2 separate regions of the Homo sapiens genome follow, and region 2 is linked to region 1. Evidence: promoter capture Hi-C in 16 types of primary human blood cells and fetal thymus (Javierre and others, 2016). All regions are on one chromosome and are shown on one strand. The core of a region is centred on a gene start or on the middle of the fragment in contact, and the rest is flanking DNA. Distances in the headings are between cores, read along the strand shown.

Region 1 (4,102 bases), core at 760-3,259:
TCAATGTAGGGCAGGATCTGGGCAGAGTGGGACAAGGTCAGAAGAAACAGGATGAGGCCAGGGCTGTGGCCAGCCCCAGGTGATGATACCCAGGGAGGGATGGCATACTTGTTGTGTAGTGAGGTCCCACTGTGAGTTGAAGAAATCCTCCTTGTCTTTGGTAAAGACAGGTACATCATACTCCTGGGCCACCGGAGGGTCTGGCCGCTGCTCAATCACCTTCAAGTGGATGGTGTTGGACTCATCTGCAGGGGGCCCCATCCATATCCTCAGTGCCACTTCTTCCAAGAGGTCCTCAATTACCATCCAGGCCTCCCAGCATCCCTTGGGGCAAGCAGGTGCCTCTGGGTAGGGCTAATCTTTCTCTTTTTATGGAGTGAGAAACGGAGGCCCACAAAGGGGAAGGAATTGCCCAAGGGGCAGAGCTGGAGAGCTCTGCTTTCCCCCTACCCCCAGTCCCAGCTCCATCATGCATTGGACCCTGGACATGGGCACCTCAGCCCATGGCTATTTCCTGCCCACCAATGTGTTCATGAGTCTTGCCCTTCTCCCTGACTAGCTGGGTTCACTTTCCCATCTCTCCTCTACCCCTCTGCTGTCCTTGCAGAGGCTGGCCATACCAATGGGCAGAGTGCACCGGCCTGAGGCATTTAGCTCCTCCAGCAAGATGGTCATGATGGGCACCAACTTCTGCTTGCTCTCCTCCATGGACACGAAGCTGCTCTCTAGCTAGACAGAGCATGGAAAGCATGGTGGGCACATCCCAGGACCCCTGGCTGGTTGGCTGCCCTGAGTCCTGAGCTGGTTTGCAGGGTCCCAGGTTTGGGGGACTTTGGAGACATGGGAACACCTTCCCCAACTCTGCCTGTCGGTAAACCCAAGCCCATCTCATTGCAGACCTCTAGTGTGGTCAGATAGCCAGCCAGCTTTTTAACAATGGGCTCGAGGGCGCAGGTCTTGGCCTGGGCATCACACACGAAGCCCAGGTTGAAGAGGAGAGCATTGCGGCTGTACTTCTTGTGTTCGATGCACACAGGACAGCCGATCAGCTTCTTTTCCATAGCTGTGCTGGATAATTGGAACACAGTCAGGCCCCCAAGCCTGTCCCTTCCTCCTCCTGGGACAACCCCTGCCACCCACCGCTCACCCCGAGCTAGGGTCTCACACAGTGATAAGCTTGTTCTGCAGCTCTGGCTTGGTGATGATGTACACTTGGACTGTGTCAAACAGCTCTCGGGAGATGAAGTCTTCAGGGACCTGGGGAGGGGAGTGGCAATGGGCCCCTCAGTGGACATCTGTACTGGGTGTAGTACAAATGGTGACCTCCTCATGCCCCCCAAGCCCAAGTCCTCTTCTCCAGCGTTCCCCTCTCTCCCATCCACTCAGGCCTATTACTTCTTTCTGTTTCCAAACATACGCTATGATCTCACCTCCTTCCTGGCTTCTGCATATGCTGTTCCCTCTACCTGGAACACTTTCTCCTGCCTTACCTAAACTTCCTATGCATCATTTACTCTTCACTCAGTTCAGGGATACTCATGGGTCACCCAACTCACCTTCTGTGGGACCTGGAACCCCCCAACCGGATCCCTACAGCCCGATATCCTACAAACACTGCCAATGTGACGTATGTCTTCCCTGCCACATTGGGAGCCGGGGGCCTGGGTCTGACTATCCTCTAGCCTCACAGTTGTCTGCGAATGAAGCAGCATGCCTGCGTGCAGCACGGGAAACTACTGCCTTCAGGCAGCCAGTTGAGCTCTCGAGAACGTCCCTCTTCCCGCCCAGTCCCGCGAGCCCGGGTGGCACCTGATAGGTGATCTTGGGTCCCAGCGTGGGGTGGAACTCGCTGAAGAATATGCATTCGATGCGGCAGCCGCTGCCCATGGCAATAACCGGGCCCAGGCCCGTAGCTCCTCGTTCCTCGCGCAGAGGCGTCCCCACCTCCTGTGAACACTTGTCAGAGACAGCCTCGAGGCCTGTGTCGCTGGGGCACGCAAGCTTGCCAATCCCTCTGCCCAATGGCGCCTGCGCAGCGCGACTCAGAGGCGTGGCTGGGGCGGGGGACGGCTCGTCCCAGGAAGTCCTGGGTGGGTAGACGTCGCACCCGGAAGTAAAGCGGCTCCGTGACGGAGCGGCGGTGCGCGCGGCAGGGCCCGGAGTATCCCGCTTTCTTTGGAGGAAACCACCGCATCAGATCTGCGCTGCGGCAGAGGCAGGCAAGTCCCTAGCGTGGAGGGGCAGCATGCTGGCAGCACTTGGGGAGGCGGTGCGCTAAGGGATTCACGCTGTAACTGGGACCGCAGCAGGGAACTACAATTTCCATAGTGCTCCGCGCCCTCCCAGCTGGCTCTACTGCCGGCGACGGCGTGGTACACGCTGGGATTTGTAGTCTTACATGGCTTTGCGCCTCCTACCTGGAAGGCGGGCCAGCGATTGGTACCAGTTCAGACATGGGTACACGTTGACAGGCCGCCGGCCGTCGACTGGCATGTTGTGACCATTCCTGGTGCTGGTCTTGGTACTGTTCTTTCCTACCATAACTTATTGGAAGAGGGTGGCATTCCTGCCTTGCAGCCTTTTCTCCAGTGAGGAGTGAACAGTGGGCACCTGAGATCCTGGCCCACGCTACTATGCTTTCAGGCTACAACCACTAGCACGGCTGACGATGGCCCTTTCTGCGGAGACCGAGTCACACATCTACCGAGCTCTGCGTACTGCTTCTGGCGCTGCCGCCCACCTTGTGGCCCTGGGCTTTACCATCTTTGTGGCTGTGCTTGCCAGGCCTGGCTCCAGTAAGTAGAATTCATAGCTGACTTCTGGGAAGGGAAGGGCCACTGTTCCTGGGGAGGAAGGGCAGTGGGACTTCCGGGAACAGGCCTGGCTGGTTGAGGGAATTCTGTGCTGGAGCGATGAGTGAGGTGGAGCAGGTAGGTATGGCCAGGGCACACAGAATTCCTGGTTTGTCTTTCCTTCTCTGGGTGCTCCATTTGGCTGCCTCTCAGGAGGTGTAAGGGAAGGAGGGAGGACTGCCAGAGGAGTGGCAAAGCATGGCCTCTGATCCAGGAAGAGGCCAGGAAGAGAGGATAGGTGTGGGGTCAGCTTGTTGCAGAGCAAGAAGGGGCTCACAGTTTGGCAGCACCTCCTTGGGTGATGGGCTGCTGGTATTCCTCAACCCTTAAGGATTGGTATGGCTGGTTTCTTCTTGCCTCAGCCCCATGAGGCCTCCTCTTCTCATTCCAGGCCTGTTCTCCTGGCACCCGGTGCTTATGTCTTTGGCTGTAAGTAGTGGGCCTGGGCAGTTCTTAGGGGTGGGAGCATGGGCATGGTTGGTGGCCCTGGCAGCCTCTGAATCTTTGTCCACATTTAATATCTGTTTGGAAGAGTTGCATGCTCCAACTACTCCTGCCCATGGTATATATTTCAGACTTGAGGCTGGGCACGGTGGCTCATGCCTGTAATCCCAGCACTTAGAGGCCGAGGCGGGCACATCACCTGAGGTCAGGAGATCGAGACCATCTTGGCCAACATGGTGAAACCCCGTCTCTACTAAAAATACAAAAAATTAGCCGGGCATGGTGGCACGCGCCTGTAGTCCCAGCTACTCGGGAGGCTGAGGCAGGAGAATCGCATGAACCCAGGAGACGGAGGTTGCAGTGAGCCAAGATTGCGCCACTGCACTCTAACCTCTAACCTAGGCGACAGAGCGAGGCTCTGTCCCAAAAAAAAAAAAAAACCCAAAAACAAAAAAACCCCCCAAAAAACCAAAAATTAGCTGGGTGTGGTGGCAGGTGCCTGTAATCCCAGTTACTCAGGAGCCTGAGGCAGGAGAATTGCTTGAACCCGGAAGGCGGAGATTGCAGTGAGCCGAGATCAGGCCACTGCACTCCAGCCTGGGTGACAGAGAGAGACTATCTCCAAAAAAAAAAAAAAAAAAAAAAAGAGACTTGAATCAGAGTAATGAAGACCCAGGACCCAGGTCAAATGGGTAAGATTTGTCTAAGCACAATGAGGCTTCACCCACCTCTAGGCAGAAAGCTGAGACATTGCATTTGGATGTACCTCTGTCCCTTTTTACTTTAATTTCTGGTGATGCACCTAA
Region 2 (4,211 bases), core at 821-3,320, 230 kb after region 1:
CCAAGGCACCCGGAGCTTGTCAGCAGCTGGCTTCAGAGCCGGCCTGACCTGTACCTTAATCTTGTGGCTGTGCGCAGGGACTTCTGTGGGAGGTAAGATCCTAGCCCCCTTTAGCCCTGTAGCATGCTGGTCTTTCCACTGGGGCCATCCTCAGCCCTGGCTGTCAGGAGAGTGTGCTGTTCCCACTTCCTGTTCATTCCCTGAGGCCCAGGTGGTAACCAGCCCCTGTCCCTGTCTCCTCAGGCCCCGGTTCCTGCATATCCGGAGGTCTGGGCCATAGCATGGCTGCCCTGTGGATGCCTTGTCAGTGCCGCCAGCCTGACCAGAGGGGAGGTGGATGGCACTTTCCAGAGCCCAGGTTCTTATGGCATTTCCCAGGGTTCTGTGATTTCCCCATGCTCTGCATTTCTAGGATATTTCTAGGACACCTGGATTGGCTCCATCACATCAGAGTGGCTGAGGGCAGTTGCTCTGTGTTGGTGAAATTGCTGTGGGGGTATCGGGGGATATGGCCAGTAAAGTATTGAGAGACTAACAAATGGTGACCTAATGTTTTGTCCATGACTTGCAGGTCCCCTGACCCCCTTACTCCCAGGTAGCACTGGGGCAAGGGTTTCCTTCTGCCCCAGCAGGGCTGGCCGTCAGTCCCCTGCTTGGTAGTGGTGTGGGGGTGCAGTGTGGAGGAAGGCACGTGAGTCCTCACTCCTGGCCTTGGATACCATGGGTCCTGGCATAGAGCAGCTCACTCCCAGGGATTGATTAGTCCTCCACTGCCCTGGGTGCATGCGTACACAATTCCCTGGCCAAGCCTGGCTCGAGCACAGGAAGCTCATCTGCGTTTTGGCTCAAGGATGACTGCCTGCTTTCTGGAGGGGAGGGTCTGGAGGTCTTTGCTGCACAGTTCCTGGGTCGCACATCCACGTTCATTTAACTGAAGGCTTGAGCCAGTGAGGGGTGTTTCCTTTTTATCCCCATAGCTTTTAGCTAAAACATCCCTCCCGAGTTGACCCCCTGGGGTTTCAAATAACCCATGTGTCCCTGGTTGGGGCTGGGGAGAGTGAGAAGCTGAGATACTGGGCACAGGGTTGTGGCCTCCACCCCAGCTCTGGTCTGTGCAGACTCATGGCCACCAGGAGGCCTGCAGATCCAGCCTTCCTGTCAACAGCGACAGGAAATCTCTAGGTTGGTGAGTGCTGGTGATGTGAGCCTACATCAGGGTGGGTCCTAAGAAACATGGCAAACCAGGCTGTCTCATTCCACTAGACTGCCCCCTGCCACCCTGGCACTTCCCAGGGCCTGGCAGTATGGTCTGATGGGCAGTATGGTCCAATAGGCAGCATCCTCTGCTGCAGCTGGGAGAGCTGAGTTCCAGGGCTGTGTCCTGCAGTGGGACCTTGGGCAACTCCTTTCCCTATGAGAAGCTGGCTCTTCTGAGTCCAGGGCCAACGCCAACTGGCAACCTCTTTACTCTTAGTCAAGTGGAATGTGCATGCTGGCATCTGAATGTCCATTCGCCAGGCATGGAGAGCAAGAGAAGGTATGTACTGCCTGAGGTCACATGACAGTGACCAAGTGGAGACAGTAAGTTAGATCCCTCCCTTTGGGGAGCCTATATTGCTGGAGTCATACCCAGCCTAAGTGTTGCCCTGCACTATGGCTGGAGGACACATTTGGTAGAGGTCACACTGCAGCTCCCAGTGCCCCAGTGTCCTGCCCTGTGCCCAGCCCCAGCTGCATGGACTCTGAGCTGCCCCTGGCTTCCTTTAAGGAGGCTGCTCCAGAAGGAACCTGGGTGGGGAGGGCGAAGGGGGTGCACAACCAGGGCAAGGCTCCCCACTTCCTTAGTCCCCCATGCTCACAGACCTTTGCCTGCTAAGGTCCTCACCAGTATTGCCCTTTCTGTCTTTCTCCTTGTGCCCTTTGGCTCTTGCTGTCTTCAGCAGCATCTCAGGGTAGCTGCCCTGACCTCGGAGCAGTCTGTCGCCCCCCTACACCTCAGCCAGTCCTGGCTTCCCTGATGGTCTCTCCCTCCTGGCCTCAGGCCCATTCCTGAGGAAGGGCCTTGGCGAGCTTGTGGATGTTGCACCAGAAGAGAGTGCAGTGTTGGAGAGTGACACTGTCGGGGCAGCTGGGGCCACAAGCAGGAGCCGGCCTCGGGCACAACTTTCTGCCCAGAAAAATGTGCAGCTTGACTCTGCTGAGGAAAAGGTCCAAGCCAAGAGGACTGGCAGGCGGGGCCTCAAGCCTGCAGCCACTGGCTTGATTGGGCCCTGGACGTTGAGCCCAGATGTTGGAGCCACACCAGCCTGGATTTCAATCCCAGAATCTGCCCCTCACGAGGATGTGACCTTGGGCAGATGACTTCACCTCACTCAGCCTTGGCTTCTAAGGCTGAGAAATGGGACTTAATGCTTTATTTTATAGGATGCATGTGAGGAGCCCATGGGATGTGCCTGGCTTGGCACATTGTGGCATTTTTCCTTGCCTTCCTCGGAGGGCAGACACAGGGAGGAAGGACCCAGTGCCCTCAGGCGTCCATCTGATGCATGGGACCAACATAAGGCAGGCAGGGATACAAGGCAGTCTGGAAAGAAGGGAAGGCAGGAGTTTCAGTCTTGGGCTCTTGACTCCTCACTGTTGTCTAGAGATGGAGCCAGCAGGCTGGTAGCCTGGCAGCCTACATCTCCCCTCAGCCTCTCCTCACTATGGCCCCAGTGCCTTGAGGCCCAGGCCAGGGCAGCCAGTGGCTCTAGCTCAGGGAAAGCCAGGCCCACCTGCCCTATCCCCTCCCTTGCTCCTGAGGCCAAAGCCAGAGACTCGAACAGCCTCCCCACCACCACCAGCATATGTCAAGGAGCACTTGCAGGCAGAATGGGAGGAGGACATGGAGCTGATGGAGTCCAGGCTGTGCAAGCCCCTGAGGTCTTGAGAGATGTGCCCACTGCCCGTGCAGCCTCCTTCAGCCAGAGCCCAGAGCATAGACAGGAGTGTAGGAGTCCCTGTTTGATGTACTCTGGGAGAGTAATTCTATCTCCTCTTCTGATAGTTGGGGAAACTGAGGCCTTGTCTCACAGTTGGATGCTTTTCCCAGTTGTCAGTGGGTTTCTCCATGGGTCTCATACAGCTGCCTTATTGAAATAGGCCCCGAACCCCCTAAATGCAAAAAATACTCTTTTTTGCTCCTTTACCCCCACCTGGACCCTGGGCTATTGGCTGCTCCCAATCCTTGCCCCAAACACTTAGCTGGCTCCCCATGACTTAAGTGTGTTCTCTTGTGTCCTATGGAATCCAGTTCTGAAGAGGTGGGGGAGGACAACTGTGGGAAAAGCCCTGGGGGCCCCTCCCAAGGCCCCATCAGTGCTCTGAGTAGGCTGTCATCAGAACAAAGGGCTCCACTGCTGACAAGGTTTGAGAACTGCTGGCTTGAGGTGAGAACCCCTTTAACCTCTGCGGGACAGCATGTCTTTCCCTATCCACCTTCGATTCTTTTCTCTTTTTTTTCTTCATTGGCTCCTTCTTAGTGGATTCTCTTCTCTACTGCCCTGGGCTTCAGCCTTTGTGCAGTACTCTCGATGCCCTGAACACACACCTTCCCTTTGCCCAGGCGGTGCAAACAATCCACTTCTTCAAGCTCCAACACAAATGCTGCCTCCTTTAGGATGCCTGCTCTGTGCTCTCCCTGCCTCCCCTAGCCCATACCTCTGCTGGCACCTTCTGTACCATGCCTTCAGAAACCTTCTTATCCCCCTCATCTCTGGGGCCCCCTGTGGATCTGGCATACCCAAGTTCAGTAAATGTCTATCAGTAAGCTGATGGTACATGCATTTTCTAGAATAGAGCTGGGACTTCCCATGTGGCCCACATCTGACCTGGCAGCCCATGTATTCCGGTCATTAGGGATGGGAAGCCATGAGGACCTGGCCTTCTGCCCGACCCAGGCAGCCATTCAAGTTGAGCAATGGCCACTTCGAAGACTCAAGTGCACCTGATCCCTGCGCAACAGCCACACCAGGAGAACAGGCTGTCCTTGGCGGCAGTAGGAGCAGGCGCCAGGTTTCCTGGAGCTCTTGGCTTCAGCCAGCCCCCAGCCAGAGTCCTGGCTAGGACAGTGACCTGATCTCCTCCTCATGACCTTCTGCCCTGGACAAGCCCCCTGAACTGGATTTGGGACTGTCAAAGCAACTCTACCCCTGCTCTGGTAGGCTGAACAG

The links. Contacts are between HindIII fragments. The CHiCAGO score rates a contact against its expected background, and 5 or more counts as called.
Region 2: a fragment that was not itself captured here is called in contact with the fragment with the promoter of NPRL2 in region 1 in 2 of 17 cell types (erythroblasts and megakaryocytes); the score reaches 5.8 in erythroblasts.

Annotation. Positions count from the first base shown.
Region 1 is chr3:50,348,766-50,352,867 of GRCh38, forward strand. It overlaps NPRL2 (NPR2 like, GATOR1 complex subunit), which reads right to left and starts at 2,010. Exons shown (of 11, transcript NM_006545.5): 1 at 1,810-2,010; 2 at 1,166-1,257; 3 at 900-1,068; 4 at 621-729; 5 at 109-245; 6 at 1-17. The coding sequence starts at 1,887. It overlaps CYB561D2 (cytochrome b561 family member D2), which reads left to right and starts at 2,097. Exons shown (of 4, transcript NM_001291284.2): 1 at 2,097-2,219; 2 at 2,644-2,795; 3 at 3,244-3,281. The coding sequence starts at 2,669. It overlaps LOC127898564 (CYB561D2-LOC101928965), which reads left to right and starts at 2,097. Exons shown (of 5, transcript NR_183066.1): 1 at 2,097-2,219; 2 at 2,644-2,795. RefSeq lists an enhancer at 2,052-2,271. The HindIII fragment of the contact is 2,178 bases long and covers 2,000-4,102 here.
Region 2 is chr3:50,580,138-50,584,348 of GRCh38, forward strand. It overlaps HEMK1 (HemK methyltransferase 1, mitochondrial release factors N(5)-glutamine), which reads left to right. Exons shown (of 11, transcript NM_016173.5): 10 at 1-92; 11 at 244-4,211. The coding sequence ends at 280. Among named protein-coding and RNA genes, the nearest start is that of HEMK1, 13 kb to the left of the region's middle. RefSeq lists enhancers at 1,655-2,156, 2,157-2,656, 4,013-4,211. The HindIII fragment of the contact is 8,059 bases long and covers 1-4,211 here.